Linked DNA regions of Homo sapiens: region 1 is linked to region 2. Evidence: promoter capture Hi-C in human tissues and cell types (Jung and others, 2019). All regions are on one chromosome and are shown on one strand. Each heading gives the region's core, a stretch centred on a gene start or on the middle of the fragment in contact. The rest is flanking DNA. Distances are from core to core; before and after follow the strand shown. Region 1 holds the start of LOC124909375 (a long non-coding RNA gene). Region 2 holds the start of SETD2 (SET domain containing 2, histone lysine methyltransferase).

What was found. The method cuts DNA at HindIII sites, captures the fragments that hold promoters and counts their contacts. A contact is called where the count stands out against the background at its distance.
Region 1: a contact is called between a fragment that was not itself captured here and the fragment with the promoter of SETD2 in region 2, in 1 of the 25 tissues and cell types used here (hippocampus).

The regions. Positions count from the first base shown.
Region 1 is chr3:46,931,824-46,939,512 of GRCh38, forward strand. The region is part of intron 2 of CCDC12 (coiled-coil domain containing 12); the gene reads right to left. It overlaps LOC124909375 (a long non-coding RNA gene), which reads right to left and starts at 6,933. Exons shown (of 2, transcript XR_007095901.1): 1 at 6,900-6,933; 2 at 4,659-4,887. RefSeq lists enhancers at 4-113, 1,942-2,709, 3,676-3,970. The HindIII fragment of the contact is 7,811 bases long and covers 1,842-7,689 here.
Region 2 is chr3:47,160,524-47,168,107 of GRCh38, forward strand. It overlaps SETD2 (SET domain containing 2, histone lysine methyltransferase), which reads right to left and starts at 3,590. Exons shown (of 21, transcript NM_014159.7): 1 at 3,331-3,590. The coding sequence starts at 3,401. It overlaps KIF9-AS1 (KIF9 antisense RNA 1), which reads left to right and starts at 3,847. Exons shown (of 7, transcript NR_033373.1): 1 at 3,847-4,074. RefSeq lists silencers at 2,883-3,192, 3,243-3,992, 4,043-4,092. The HindIII fragment of the contact is 7,701 bases long and covers 1-7,316 here.

The DNA of each region.
Region 1 (7,689 bases), core at 4,497-6,996, 230 kb before region 2:
ACCAGAGAGACTGGCAACTTTGATCAAAGAACACTTTCATTTTTAATATTCAGAGTACAGAGACACTGGAGCTCTGCCAGGAAAACACACTCATGACACTCAGACATGCCCCTAATAATCCTCTGTTTGCTTTAGGCTCTGCACATAGAGACCTACCCCTTGTCCCCAATATAAATAACAAGGCTTCAGTTGCTGCTGCCAGAGGCCAGACTCGACAGAAGCATGAAAATGAGGGGAGAGGCAACTACCCCAAATGAGGTACACAACTGCTCTAGAGGCTGATCTGGTCTTTCTTTCAAGGGCCATTAAAATGTTCAAACTCCCTGACCCGGTAACCCTGCTCTGGGGAAATTATTCCATAGAAATAGTAACAAGACAGGAGCAAGCAAAACAAAGCATTCTATATACGCACGATCCTGGCAGCATAATTCATAATAGCTACAACACCTCTGGGATCTCTTCTGGCAGAGTGCCCTAGAGTGGCCTAAAGTACCACCAGGCTATGAGGGCAAAGGACAATTTAGTACAGGGATGTTTTTGTTTGGTGGTTGATATTTTTCTTTAGAACACTCAATGGCTGGCTTTGCAGCAAATGAGACTTTTAAAGAGCCCAGTGGCTTCCCCACTCGTGGGCAGAGGAGACTGTCCTCCAGCTGTCACCCAGCAAGGCAACTGTGGCCCCAGCCTGAAGAACGGGTACAGTGTAAGGCAATAAAACCTCCCTTCCCTTCTCTTATCCAGCCCACCCCAAGCCTCCTGTCCTTCTGGCCACACAAAGAGGACAAGGTCTATTGGAGCACATGACACAAGAAGTGACCATGGGCAGGACAGGGCCACATCACAGCCTCAGGGGGTGGACAGGCCTCCAAGCAAGTCCTGGCAAATGCGTCCTCAGCGGGTTTCAGAAAAAGGAGTGGGAGCGCCTTTGTGCCCCCACCTGAAACCACAGGCCAGAAAGCATGAGATAATGCACCCTCCCCAGTAGGGGCAGCCTCCACACATGGCCTCTCAGAGGCCACCTCTCGAGACCACCCTTCCACAGAGGAAGAGGGTGTCACTGACATTTTCTCAATGTGGAAAACAGTCCAGAAAGACTATCCAAGGTGCCAGAGTTGAAGGAAGAGCCGGAGGCAGAATCCACACCCTGCTCTCTGGCCTAGGGGTGGACCCCACACCAGCTTCCTGCATCTGGCTCCTCAGGGACCAGCAACTGCAGTAGAGAAGCTACCTGACACAGTGACTGGGGCCTGGCCAGGGCTGCAGGTGGCTGTGCCAGGGCTCTGAGTGCTCAAGTGTTCCTCAAAGGAAAAACTCCTGCAGCCTACCCCACAGTGGAGTTCAGCCTACAGCATTATCCTGGAAACTCCCTCCCTCAACGGGAGCCCAGCCTCTCAGCTCTCCCCACTGCCAGGAGAAGCCTTCCTCAGCCCTAAAAATTACAATTTTAGGTCACAGGTCTTAGAGGCAGAAGGAGCTTCAGAAGTAGTACAGTCAAGCCCTTGCCTTAAAAACAAGGAGGCCGGAGAAGCCAGAGCTGGCTGGGGATGAGATCTGTATGGGAGCCCCCACCAAGACAGATCAACAGCTATGGCCACGTGTTGGCACCAAGGCCTACCCAAAGGCCCCTGAGGGATGGCTTATAAGCAGCCAACGGCTGTTCCAGGCAATGACCAGGGCTGAGTGTTAGTTAAATGAGGCCCCTGCCCTGCTGGAGCTGCCATCGCATCTGCATCATGCGGTCTGCACCCACTCTCATCCCAGACGCTGCAGAACCTAACCAAGGTGCTCTACACTGACAAGTTTGAACTTTGCACCCATCCCACCTGAAAGCCCATAGCTAGTGGGTACTTAAGGCGTTAGAAAAAACTGGTCTGCCAAAAGCAAAACAAAAAACCCCAAGACTGAAAAATAAATCATGGTACTCTCAAAGAAATATTAAGCTGCCATAATTTCATGAAAGTGTATTTACCAAAAGATAGTCATGACACGGCTCATGAAAAAATGTTACAAAACAGCATGATATGCACAGATACATGTTGATCTGTAGTTTCTAAGTTTTCTACAATAAAAAAATCTATAATTTATGTAAATATCAATTGAAAATTTTTTTTTTTTTGAGATGGAGTCTCGCTCTGTCGTCCACTGGAGTGCAGTGGAGCAATCTCGGCTCACTACAAGCTCCGCCTCCCGGGTTCACTCCATTCTCCTGCCTCAGCCTCCCAAAGTGCTGGGATTACAGGCGTGAGCCACAGCACCCGGTTGTAAATATCAATTTAAATTTTAAAACAGGAGAGGAGTAAACGTTTATGGCAGATGAGCTAAGCCCCAAAGGGCCCATAAGGTGAGAACTGGATTGGTCACACTGGCCATGTGGGACCCAGATGTTGGGGGACAGGGGCCTGCATAGCCCACTGCCCCTCACCCTCCCAGGGCCCAATCTAGCCCACAGACCACTCTGGGAAAGTGGATGGTGCTCAACCCCATAAGGCTGCCCTGAGTGGCAAACTGCCAGCAGCTGCTGCACTCTGCCAAAGACTCTTTTCCCCACACAGGGAGGGGTCTCAGTGCCAGCTCCACTCCCTTTCAAAAGTTGGAGGATTTTAGCCAAGGAAATTTTAGCCAAGTCACTTCACCTGCCTGGACTGTAGTTTCTTCACCTATAAATGCAGATCACATTAGTCCCAGAACAGAGGTGAAGACTTCATAAGAGGGGCTTTGGAAGCTGAGATCAGGACATACAAGATATCAAGACTTAATGCACACAGAAAGGATTCAGCTGTGCTCCTACCCCACCCTACCCAGAAGGGAGGTGCCCGGTGCCAGCACATGGTGAGTCGGCTTCACCATCTTCCTTAAACCAGTTCTCTCTTGATTCATTCTCCCACATTCCCAGGCCTATTCCCAAGAAACAGGGTCAGGAAAAACGAGGCAGTCGTGGGTCCCTGTGCTGCTGCTTCAGCAGGAGATCTCCACTGCCCATGACTGGGACATCACCAGATGTAGACATCCTCTACAGTGGGACTGAAAGAACTCAGGAGGCGTGATGGGAGCCGCCCTGGTCGGTACCACTACGGTGGAACAATGCATGCCAAATCAAGCTGATGTCATGGATCAAACAACCATGATCTGTGATACACCCTGGTGTGTGGAAACCATCAGTGGGGCCCAGCACACAGAGCAGAGAGGCCTGGCATTGGCTGGACTCAAGGGTTTGGGCACTGGGCCAGGGCTGGGCCTTAGCTGGGGTGGGAAGTCTCTCCACAAGAGGGTCATGCACACATTGAGCTGGGGAACAGATTTTCCATCTCTGAAGAAGGAAGGCTAGTGGCCTCATTGCTTTTGCAATATGTGACACCCAGCACCGGTCAAACAACTATCTCTGATGGTGACCGACTTTTCCAGCTGTGTGCAGACCTCCATACAAAGCCACAGGGAGGTGGTGGCTGTGGAGGTTGGGAGGTCGGGACTTGCTTGTTCAGGCACTTTCTGGCATAGGAGGAGGCGAGTGCTCCTGGTTAAGTGCCTCCTCCCTTCTCCTCCCACCTGTCAGCCCCAACCCAACAGTCCATCCATCCCACAAGGCAGGGTGGCAATGGCTGTCAGCCACAAACGCTGCCCTAGACATGCCTCCATGGCACATATCAGCCAACCTCCCATCAGGAAGAAGTGACGGAGAGCTTTTTAAAAAAAAAAAAAGCAGCTAAGCAGCTGACACTGACATGAACGCCCCTGAATGCCCTCTTCCATGGGCCAGCTTTCCAGGGCACATCTTATCTGGGCAGTACACAGGGGGCTGGGGGAAGGGAGCTGCCTTAGGGATGAGTCATCCATGCCTCTACAGAGTTAGCTACAAGAGGGCTGGCAGAGACAGGGAAGAGTCAGCCCAGAGAAGTAGGGCCCATCTAGGGGTAGGAATGCATCCTTTCTTCCCACAGAGCCTGGGCTGGTGGAGCTGCTGGAGCTCACTCCCACCCAATGGGGATTTGGTTGTATGGGGATAGGACAGGATTTATCCTAGGAGAATAATACAAATTTTAAAAAGGAATCTGGATCTATAGATTCAATGCAATTCTATCAAAATCCCAGCAAGCTTTTTCTAATAGATATTAACAAGCTAACTATAAAATGCATAAGGAAAGGCAAAGGAACTGTTAGAATAGCTAACATAATTCTGAAAAGGTCTCCTCAGGCAGTGGGGCAGGAACACAGGCAGGCAGGCGAGTGGCTCTTCAAGATGGCTGGTGAGGGGCAAGGTCCTGGGGTGGCTCCCTCCAATCCTGCTGGATTTTCATTTACTTAGCCACAAACCCTGGCCCTACAGTGTATCTGGTTAGACAAATGAATCTGCAAAATGAGACCACTCAGCTTATTTCCAAGGACTATCTAATGCAGCAAATAAGCGAGGCTCTACAAAGTGGTTCCTAATCACAAACTTCTAAGTCACATTTCCTTATTTCTACTCCCATCCATTGCCTCACATTTCCCCCAACTGTTGCCTTATTTGCAAAGCTGGCACATGCTTTATGTAAAAGTTACTTCTGCCTTTTCGAGGTGTGTCCAGAGTCCTTTCACTCTCTCGGGAGGACCTCACGGTGCCTTCCTTCTGCCCAGAGCCCCAGCACTAGCTGGGCAAACAGGTATGGCATTTGCTCTGTTCGTCAGGTGAAGCAAGTTTTATTTCATTTTTTTCCACCTTTGGTTGAAGATTCTGCGGCTCACTGAGGCAATGTGACTTGCCCAGGGTTAGAAAATTAACTGGCAGGGCTTGGCCTCAAACCCGGGAACTGCTTCCAAAGCTTGACCTTACTCCATCTGTCTATGTCCTTTCATTTCAGGGACTGCTGCTGAACCAAGAATCTTCTCAACATGTGTTCTTCCCCTAAGTCCCTAAATTAAAGCAGAAAAAAAAAATTTAAAGCATGATGAACTAGCTACATCAATATATGGAACTGACCACCAGGCAGGGGACACTGAGTGACCTGGAGAGTAACTGAGGCAGATGGACCCTGCTCTCTGCCAGCTAATGGGACATAGGGAGCCGAGACACTCACAGGCAGCAGGCCCTGGGGTCACCCAGTCATTAGAGTTCAGAGCTGAGTGGCCGTGTGGGATGGAATGACTCAGGGAGGAATCCTGGTCAGGGCATAAGAGGAGAAACTAGGGAACAAGAGGAAGAGGAGGGCGCCCCCTCCATCTCTCTGTAGGGCCTGGGTCAGGGACGCATCAGAGACAACTTAGTCTTTCCCATCCAGGTTGGGCCCTTGGTCTCAGATGCAGATCTGTGTAACTCCCTTGGCGTCACTCCTGAGATGGTGAGGGGGTCAGACTGGAAGGGGCCCCCAGGGACACTGTGTAAAGGAGAGTTGGGGTGATGTCTGTTCATGCCTCCCCAACAAGAGGCTATACCACCCACCCTTTCACACTGCAGATTCATGCCTCTGGACCTTTGCCACCCAAACCCTACCATCTGGATTCCAGACTTAAAAGGTATGTTCTCCATAAGGCCTTGTCCCACTGAAGGCAGGACAGTGTTAGTTGAAAGCACCCCTGAGTGGGCACCACACTCCTCTCAGCACACTCCAGAATGGCGGGTGCTGGTGGGGCTTCACACCTGGCACCTGGGCTCAACCCAGAGTGACCCTGACTGAAGTAGGCTGTTCTCGCCTCCCAGCAGCCGAGGAAGAAGGATGCTCACTGGCGAATGGCCTCAGGGGTCATCTCTCCAATGGACTGGAAGGTCACTTCTTTCTCTCCAGTGGCAAAGGAGGCTGTAGCAGGGGCTATGGCCTAGGGGGTTCTCTGGAATCAGCTCCCAATCCATAAGCATCCTGCATGAGAGCCCCTTTCCAGACTTGGGGTACAAATAAAAAGCAAGATCCCCTGGGATGGACACGGCCTCTGCTGCATCCTGCTCTTCCTGGAAAGTCCATCATCCCCAATCCCTGGACCCTGCAGTCTAAAGTTACGTCCACATAGGTCTGGCCCTGTGTTAGGCAACCAATGTTCTAATCTGCCTTCCTAAATAACCTGAGCAAGCCCTCTGCTCTGGATCTGTTAAAGTCAGAAGAGTCTGCTTTTCTCTGGGGCCTACAAATACAGGCACAACTCCTTGCTAAGGCTAGGCTTCCTGGCAACCAAGGGAGTGACCGAGTAGCAGGCCCTGCCAGGTACAGGATGCTAGAAGTCCACCTGCCCAAAGTCTCTAGAAGGACAGCCCCAAAAGCCAAGCTCTCAACGACTGGGAGGCAAACCTGTTCCACCATGCTCCACTGCCTCAAAAGAGGCCAGATTAGAGCAAAGCAGAAGAATATGATGAGCTGAAGCAGAACCCAATTCAATGTCCAGCATGGTTGGTCCCTGGGCTGCGGTGAGAAAAAACAAAACAGGGCCCTGCACCTGCCCAGCTCAGTGGGCTCAGGACAGGGCCTCAGAGCAGGTCTTGTGCTCCACTACAAATGACCTGTAAGACCTAACAGGAAGCAGGTCCTCACATGGCAGGGCCTCTTTTATCTAGAACTCACTGACAGGAGCCTGGAACTACACATGCCCTTTGGTTTTTTTCCCACAGTTTTCATTATGATATATCTCAGGCACACAGAAAAGTCCGGAGAATAACCTAACACATATACTCACCTCCTGCAGAGTCAATAAAAGTAATGTTTTGCCATATTCCAGACAGGTTTGTTCCCCTCCTGTTTTTTTTTTTTTTTTTTTTTTTTTGGTACAACAAAATCACACATCATTGGCCAGGTCCACTGGCTCACACCTGTAATTCCAACACTTTTGGGAGGCTGAAGTGGGTGGACTGCCTGAGCTCAGGAGTTTGAGACCAGCCTGGGCAACCTGGTGAAACCATGTTGTTTTTGTACCAAAAATTAGCTGGGCATAGTGGTGCGCACCTGTGGTCCCAGCTTCTTGGGAGGCTGAGGTGGGAAGATCGCTTGAGCTTGGGAGCCACGTGGAGGTTGCAGTGAACTGAGATAGCGCCACTGCACTCCAGCCTGGGTGACAGAGCGAGACCCCATCTCAAAAAAAAGAAAAAAAAAATCACACATCATAGAGCCTTTCCCTAATCCTGTTTCCTCCTTGCTTCCCCAGACAGCAATCGGAGGCATCACTCCTCATGTATGTGTTTACACTTCTGCTTTCGCTTTCTTGGCAGCACCTGACACTGTATCACACGCCTGCTTCTTCGTTAACAGCCTGTCTCCTTCCAGAAAATGTCAGCTCCATGAGGGTAGGGGCTGTACTTTGTCTGCTGTTGCCTTCCAGGGGCCCACAATGGTGCCCTGCACAGAGCAGACAACCAATAAAGTCAGTACTTGCCAACTGAGTAACACACATATATCATTTTGTGTTCCTAAATTTGATATAAATGTTCCTGCCCTGTATGCCTCAATTCTGAAACCTGCTTTTTTCCTTCACTCAACACCATGTTTGAGATTCACAACCATATGGTTCAACATTCAAGCCTCTTACTGTATGACCCACCCACCCACCTGCTAAACCAGCGACCCTTCTCTCTCATCGAGGAGGGGGAGGGGTGGGGATCAGAGAAAACACCACCAGCAAATCAAAGCCCAGAAACTGGAACTCAGGCTCCAGCCAGAGTTCCAGTTTTTGAGAAACTAAGAATAAACCAGAAGACCAAAGGGCCTCTAATATGTAGTTACCACAGAATGGGGGAAA
Region 2 (7,584 bases), core at 2,340-4,839:
GGTCTCCAACCACTGACCTCAGGTGATCCACCCACCTCGGCCTCCAAAAGTGCTGGGATTACCGATGAAAGCCACCCCACTTGGCCAGAACATTCTATATCATTTATTATCACCCCTATTAGGATGTAAACTCCACAAGGGCAAAATTTTGTTTTGTACACCAATTACCCTTAGTGTGCCTATGTTTGGCATACAACAGACATGCATATGTTCAAAGACCTGCACCTCTATCACTGTAAAGTACTTGCCTATCTCCTTCATTAAAAGAGTTCCTTAAAGACTAACTGGATCTACTTTGCCGTGTCCTCAACACCTGTCCCTGGGCCTGCCCCATAATGGACACCCACTGCACAGATACTCAAGTGATTACAGCCATTTTCACCTGAAACACAATGTCCTCTATGCTGCTGAATAAAAAAGACATCTTGCAGCTGTGTCTGATTAAAAGCATGGGTACAAGACAAACCCAGAACATCAGACGCTAAGTGTTACTTCAGTCAAACTGAATTTACATTTTTGCCTCAATTTCTTCATATGTCTAAGTACCATTTCAAACCATCCAAAGTCTAAAAAGGGCACTTGGTCATTTCTCCCCTGAGCCATGTTGCCCACCTAGTCTTTTCATCCTCAACTTAAATCCTACCTTTTAACTTTTCCCTGATGACCCCAACTAGAAGCACTTACACGTGCCACATTCTGCGCCAAGTGCTCTTCATGCATTATCTCATTCAATCCTCCCAAAAAGCCCCAGTAAGTTGTTAACCATTATAATACCTATATAAAAGATGAGAAAACCCAAGTTCAGAGAGATGAAGTCATCGTCCAAGGTTAAAATAGTGTTCAGATTCAGGTCTGACTCTGAAATCCAGGTTTTTTAAACCCTATACTGCCTTTCTCTCTCCTCTCTCTAGCATTATAAACACTAACTAGCTTACTATCTCAAGAGTTTGCTGTCACTTCACTTCTCTAGCCTTCATTTTCTTCATATGCCAAACAGGTGATATTGCTCAGGATACCTACCATGATCCCCTCCAGTCTTTATAGTATTATGAAAAAAAGGAAAAACAAAACAACAACAACAAAAAACATGTTACAATTCTTTACTCCATACAGGTTAATACACAAGAAGAGGCCTGGCACAATGGCTCATGCCTGCAATCCCAGCACTTTGGGAGGCCAAGGCAGGAGGCTCACTTGAGGCCAGGGATTCAAAACCAGTAACGTAATTTATTTTTTTTTAATTAGCTGGGTGTGGTGACACATGCCTATAGTCCCAACCCAGGAGGCTGAGGCAGGAGGACTGCTTAAGCCCAGAGGTTCAAGGATGCAATGAGCCATGATGACACCACTGCACTCCAGCCTGGGTGACAGAGTGGGACCCTGCCTCTAAAAAAAAAAAAAAGGAAAAAATACACGAGAATTTAAAAATATATAATCACTGTTAGAAATCCAAAGCAGTGGATTTCTACTACATTAAAGCAATAAAAATAAAAACTCCAAAACATGTAAAACCATAAAACATTCTTGATTCCTTCCCCACTCAGGTCTACCAAAGATGCACTTCTGAGTCCATTTTCCCACATATTATGAAAAATTGTTTTTCCCCAAGAAGTGTAAGGATGTGATCCTTAAAGCTTCCGGACTTCACCAAACAACCTGGTAAAAGGAAGTGAAAGCAGGCACTTAGCCTATTCAGGGGTTAGCATGTTACTTTGTACAGAGCAAGTGCTATATAAGCATTTATTGAATCGTGATATAAAATTTTTTTTGAGGTTTTTCAAACTAAAAACCTATAACATGAGCTTTGTAATTGGACTGATGGTGCAGTAAATCAAAACAATCTTACCTAACTGACCCTGCCAGTAGCAAAACAAAAAGACCAATCTAATTAAGGTAATGTTAACCAATGGCCAAGAACCCATGAAAGGAAAAAGCCATGTTAACTTACTATTGCAAGTAAGAGTTGGGTTTTTAGAAAAGCAAAATAATGATTTATCTTGTTGTGCAGAAATGACCAACACCTCAACAGAATCCGTTTGTGTTGCAATCAAAACTATCAATTAAGATCCAGACATTTCTGGACCAATGTGAGAAGATGTGGCAAGGGATTCAAAAACGAGCCAGAGCAAACCTAAGGTAAAATGTGTCAAAACAGCAAAGCTCTTGGAATCATCCTGGTCATAAAAGTTTGACAGTTTCATGTGAAACCCCTATCAACCGATAAGTTTTAAATCAATAGTATATTCCTAGGTCTAACACCAGCAAACGGTGTTTAAGAACGGCTTTTCAAAACAATGGTCTCGTGAGGGTTCAGGGAAAGAAGTGACTCCAGGCTTTCTGAGATAGCAGATACAGCAGCAGATTCAGACCTCAAGAGAAATGTAAAGGTGTCCTAGACTGAAAAATTACTATTGGGCAAAACTGTGTGTCGGTTTTCCACAACATTGTCTTCTTTAGAGAATCCTCAAACGATTCTTGGTTTTTAACCAAGTCTTCACAAGAAATAGAAAGTCATCCGTTTAGGGTAAGAGATTCCTGTTACCAAGAAAATTGTGTCCGAAAGTGTGAAAATCTCACAACCTGCAAGAAAATGTATGTCCCTCAGGAGGCTTTCATTTTCAAGCGGAAAAACAAACCCGGTGTCACCTCAACAACGGGACCACACAAACCTCGCCATTACAAAACCCAAGTGCCAAAGGTGCACAATGTGAATCCGGAAGCACTGCAAGGCCAGGATCGAGTTCCCAGGAGGAAAAAATCAAACTCAGGAGTGCAGCGCGGGCCCCTCCACGGCCCGGGGGCCAGGCAACCCGCGCTAGGCCCTTCCGGTCCGAGGCGCCGCCGTCGCGGGGAGGTCGGGCGACGGGTCGAGCTTCCACCCGAGCCCGGGGATTCGCGGCCTACCCTCACCGGCGCCCTCTTGCCGGGCCCGGCACCGGCAGCTCCTCCGACTCTGCCCTTTGGCTAGCAGCGGGGCCCGGACGAGCCACGAGGAGCCCGAGAGGACCGCCGAGCCCCGGGATGGCCGGGTCGGTGCGGACACGGCGGTAACCGTAGGGACCGTGGCCGCCCCTCCCCCACCGGCCCGGCCCAACCGCCGCCGCGACACGAGCAGCGGCGCCAACGCCGGGCCCAACCGCGGGCCTGCTGCGGCCCCGGCCAAGCGGCTCGAAGTGGCGGCGCGGGCCTGCTCCCGACACCGACCGCGCGAGGCCACCGTGGGCCTGTTACTCCTCGCGCCGGCCCGCGCCGCCACCCGTCAGGACGCGCCGCCCTCGGCTGGGGATAAGGCGGCCGACAGCAGCGGGGGGCCGCGGAGCTGATACTTACTCAGGGGTCGGGTGCTCCGGGTCGTAGAAATCCCCCATCTTCGGAGGCGGCTGCGGCTGCAGCTGCTTCATCGGGAGCGGCTGGAGACGGCGACGCGAGCCCCCTCCCCGCAGCAGGGCGACGCGGGGGAGGGGAGGGGAGGAGGCCGCAGGTCCGACCGCGGCGGCGGCGGCGGCGGCGGCGGCGGCGGCAGGGGCGGCCCGCGTCGCTACCTCGCTCGTCGCTCCCTCCCTCCCTCGGACGCCCGCCAGCCGCTCTCTCCCTCTCACCCTCACACCGGGAGCGACGCACACCCCACCCGCCCCTCAGCTTCGCAGGCCCGGCCCCTTAAAGAGACACACACGGGCCACCGATCTGCCGCCAGTCGGCGTGCCTTGCAGCTGTTGGCTTGACCCCAGGCCGGGACGGGCAGAGCGGAACACTGCCCGGCGGGTCCAGGCCGACCGTGCCTGTGGCTCTCCGGAACAATAAACCCCCGGCCCCAGTGATGTGGGCCAGACCGGACCTGGAGAGGCGGCACCGCGACCCCTCCCGCAACCCGCCTGGCGGCCGGGGGCAGCGTGACCCGGCCCGCTACCGTGTCACAGCTGGCGACTGACAAACAGCAGGCGACGTCGGGAGAACTCCCCGAGACACCCGAGACATCAGCCTTCTCGCTCCGCGGCCCTGCAGGACCTGCCCGCCGGGAGCCCCGGAGTCCGCGGCAGCGCCGAGGGCCCCTCCCCCAGGCCTCTGGGCTCTGAGGTAACGCGGCCGCGGCTGCTCCCGGGCCCCTCGTCCCACTCGCCCCTCTCTTTTTTATTTTTCCTCGCCCTCTCTCTCCCTTGCCCGTTCATCTCGACCCTTTAGCAAGCATGGAAGCCCAGCGAGGCGGGGGATTGCTCGGAGGCCGAGCTCCCGGCAGCCTCCTCCGCCTTCCTTCCCGCTGTGCCCTCGGGGCTCCTACCTCCACCTCGGCGCGGCGCTCTGCCCCCACCCGAAGTCTCCAAGGCGGCAGCTCCCCTCTCCTGTGTGGTTCTTGGGGCCTTAGAGGCAATGTCATGAAAAAAAGGGTATTAATCACTTTCCTACAGAAATGATAAGATGAGACTAAGTAGAATAACTTGAAAGAGCTACGAGTTGTTATTTTTGGAAGGAGAGATAGGAACGCGTAAATCCAATAGCTAAACTTTCTAGACGCTGAAGAGTTTTTGGCGATAGATCATTTTGACATTGGGGGTTCATAGGGTTAGCGTTTTTTGTGTTGTTGTTGCTGTTGTTTTTCCACTAGAATTTTGAATCGGATTTTACCAGCAATTGGTAACGGAAAGGAAAGGATGTGTCTTCCAATTGAGAAACAGTGGTTAAAAACTGAAAGTGGGCCGGGCGCGGTGGTTCACGCCTGTAATCCCAGCACTTTAGGAGGCCGAGGCGGGCGGAGTAACTGAGGTCAAGAGTTCCAGACCACACTGGCCAACATGGCGAAACCCCATCTCTACTAAAAATACAAAATTTAGCCGGGCGTGGTGGCGCACGGCTGTAATTCCAGGTACGCGGGAGGCTGAAGCAGGAGAATCGCTTGAACCCAGGAGGCGGAGGTTGCAGTAAGCCCAGATTGTGCCACTGCACTCCAGCCTGGCGACAGAGCAAGACTCCATCTCAAAAAAATAAATAAATGAATGAAAATAAAAAATAAATTAGCTGGGCGTGGTGGTGCGCCTGTAATCCCAGCTACTCGGGAGGCTGAGGCAGGAGAATCGCTTGAACCCAGGAGGCGGAGGTTGTAGTGAGCCCAGATCGCACCATTGCACTCCAGCCTGGGCGATATAGCGAGACTCCGTCTCAAAAAAATAAAACAACAACAACAAAAAAAAACTGAAATATGATACGAAAGAATAAACATCCTTCAGTGGTTAACTTTTTAAAATAGCCTTTATATGTATGTAGGCTACAGTGTCTATTAGTGTTTTATAATCATTGTTTTTCACTTAGGGATTATTTTGGCTTTTGTTTTTTTTTTTCCTGGTACCTTTAGGGTTAGCATGGAGGTCCAGGGTCCATCTGACTCCCTAGGTTCGAATCTCCCAAGGCCATTTTTTTACACACCGTGATTATTACTAATTTCCCTGTGGTTTTTCTCATTATAAAATGAGAATATTGCTGCCGACAGGTCTTCTCATTATTGTGAGGATTAAATGAGCTATTTGTTAAAGGCTTAAACTTTCAGTAAACGTCAGCATTCTTCAGCCATGATAGTGCAGAGTTTAAGAGGTAGCTCTACCTGGCATTGTGTACCAGGCACTTTCTAGCCCTGTGACATTGGGATGCTTGCTTCTTATGCTTCCCGTGCCTCACCTGTAAATGGGGTATTAGCCACTGTGCAGAGAATGTTGTGAACATGCTTGCACAGTGCCTTTCATTGAGTAAGTGCCCAGTAAGTGTTATCTTTTGGGCTTTGAAAGAATAGATTGAGGCCCTGTGCCTTAGATGCCACATAGGCAATTGGGAGTCACTTGACCTTGGACAGGCAGGAAAGGACAATTTTAGGTGGAGGTGGTTGAAACAATGTGAGGTGGTAAGGACCTAAGCTGAGGTGAATGAGAAAAAAGCAGTCAGGTGCAGGTTTCCTATTTCCTTAATAAGAAAGTAAGCAATTCTCTTGCAGGAGGTACAGCTGGGCACTGGAATGCCTGGTCTCATGATAGCATTGGTTTGGTCAGAACCCAGTGCAATAAGCTTGTCAAGCCATGGGAATCAGTGAGAATTCTAAGCCCCAAACAGAAACAAATGAACTGGGTTTTTACAGGCAGTGCCTTCATCTATAACTGCACTCAGAGTTCTTTGGACTCATATTTTTAAGTCAAAGAGAATGCATGCTTGGAGCACGTACTTGGGCCTGGCCTCCTGATCAAAGCTGTGGAATAATTTGGTTTTTCATGTTATTAAATACTGACCATCCCCTACTTTCTGCACATGTTTAAAGGAAAAATGTCTAAAAAGCCCTAGCATGAAATATTTGAGGCATTCACTCCCAGAGTGCTAAAATCGTAAAAGCCTTTATAATTTCAGCTGGGTGTGATGGGATCATGCCTGTAATCCCATCACTTTGGGAGGCTGAGGCAGGTGGGTCACCTGAGGCTGGGAGTTCAAGACCAGCCTAACCAACATGGAGAAACCCGGTCTCTACTAAAAATACAAAAATTAGCCCGGCGTGGTGGCACATGTCTAATACCAGCTACTAGGGAGGCTGAGGCAGGAGAATCACTTGAACCTGGGAGGCGGAGGTTGCAGTGAGCCGAGATCATGCCATTCCACACCAGCCTGGGCAACAAGAGCGAAACTCATCTCAAAAAAATATATATATATTTATACTTTCTCCTACTGTTACTGTCTCCTGTGGGTCAAGACCAACCCTATCCCAGGAGATTCCAGGGTTGCCAGTAGTGACCCTGAAACAAAATCATCTCTTGCCTTAGGGAAGACAAAGGCCAAAAGCCTACTCTCCACAGGTAGGCTTCGGGTACCTGGTAAGGGTAGTAGAAAGAAGAAATGTAGACCGGGTGCGGTGGCTGACGCCTGTAATCCCAGTACTTTGAGAGGCCAAGGCAGGCGAATCACCTGAAGTCAGGAGTTCGAGACCAGTCTGACCAACATGGAGAAACCTGGTCTCTACTAAAAATACAAAATTAGCCGGATGTGGTGGCACATGCCTGTAATCCCAGCTACTCTGGAGGATGAGGCAGAAGAATCGCTTGAACTCTGGGAGGCGGAGGTTGCGATGATGAGCTAAGATCGCGCCACTGCACCCCAGCCTAGGCAACAACAGCAAAACTCCATCTCAAAAAAAAAAAGAAATGTAGGTCGGGCACAGTGGCTCATGCCTATAATCCCAGCACTTTGGGAGGCCGAGGAAGGCAGATCACTTGAGGTCAGGAGTTCAAGACCAGCCTGGCCAATACGGTGAAACCCCATCTCTACTAAAAATACAAAAATTAGCTAGGCATGGTGGCGCACGCCTATAATCCCAGCTACTCGGGAGGCTGAGGCAGGAGAATTGCTTGAGCCCGGGGTGGGGGGTGGAAGTTGCAGTGAACAGAGATCGCATCACTGCACTCCAGCCTGGGCAACAAGAGTGAGACTCAGTCTCAAACAAAAAAAATGAATAAAATAAATAAATATGTATTTTCTCCTCTGTAGCACAGAAACATTTACTATCAACATCTTAGCATTTTGGGGAGCGGGAAATGAGATAATGTCTGACAAAGTACCTAATGC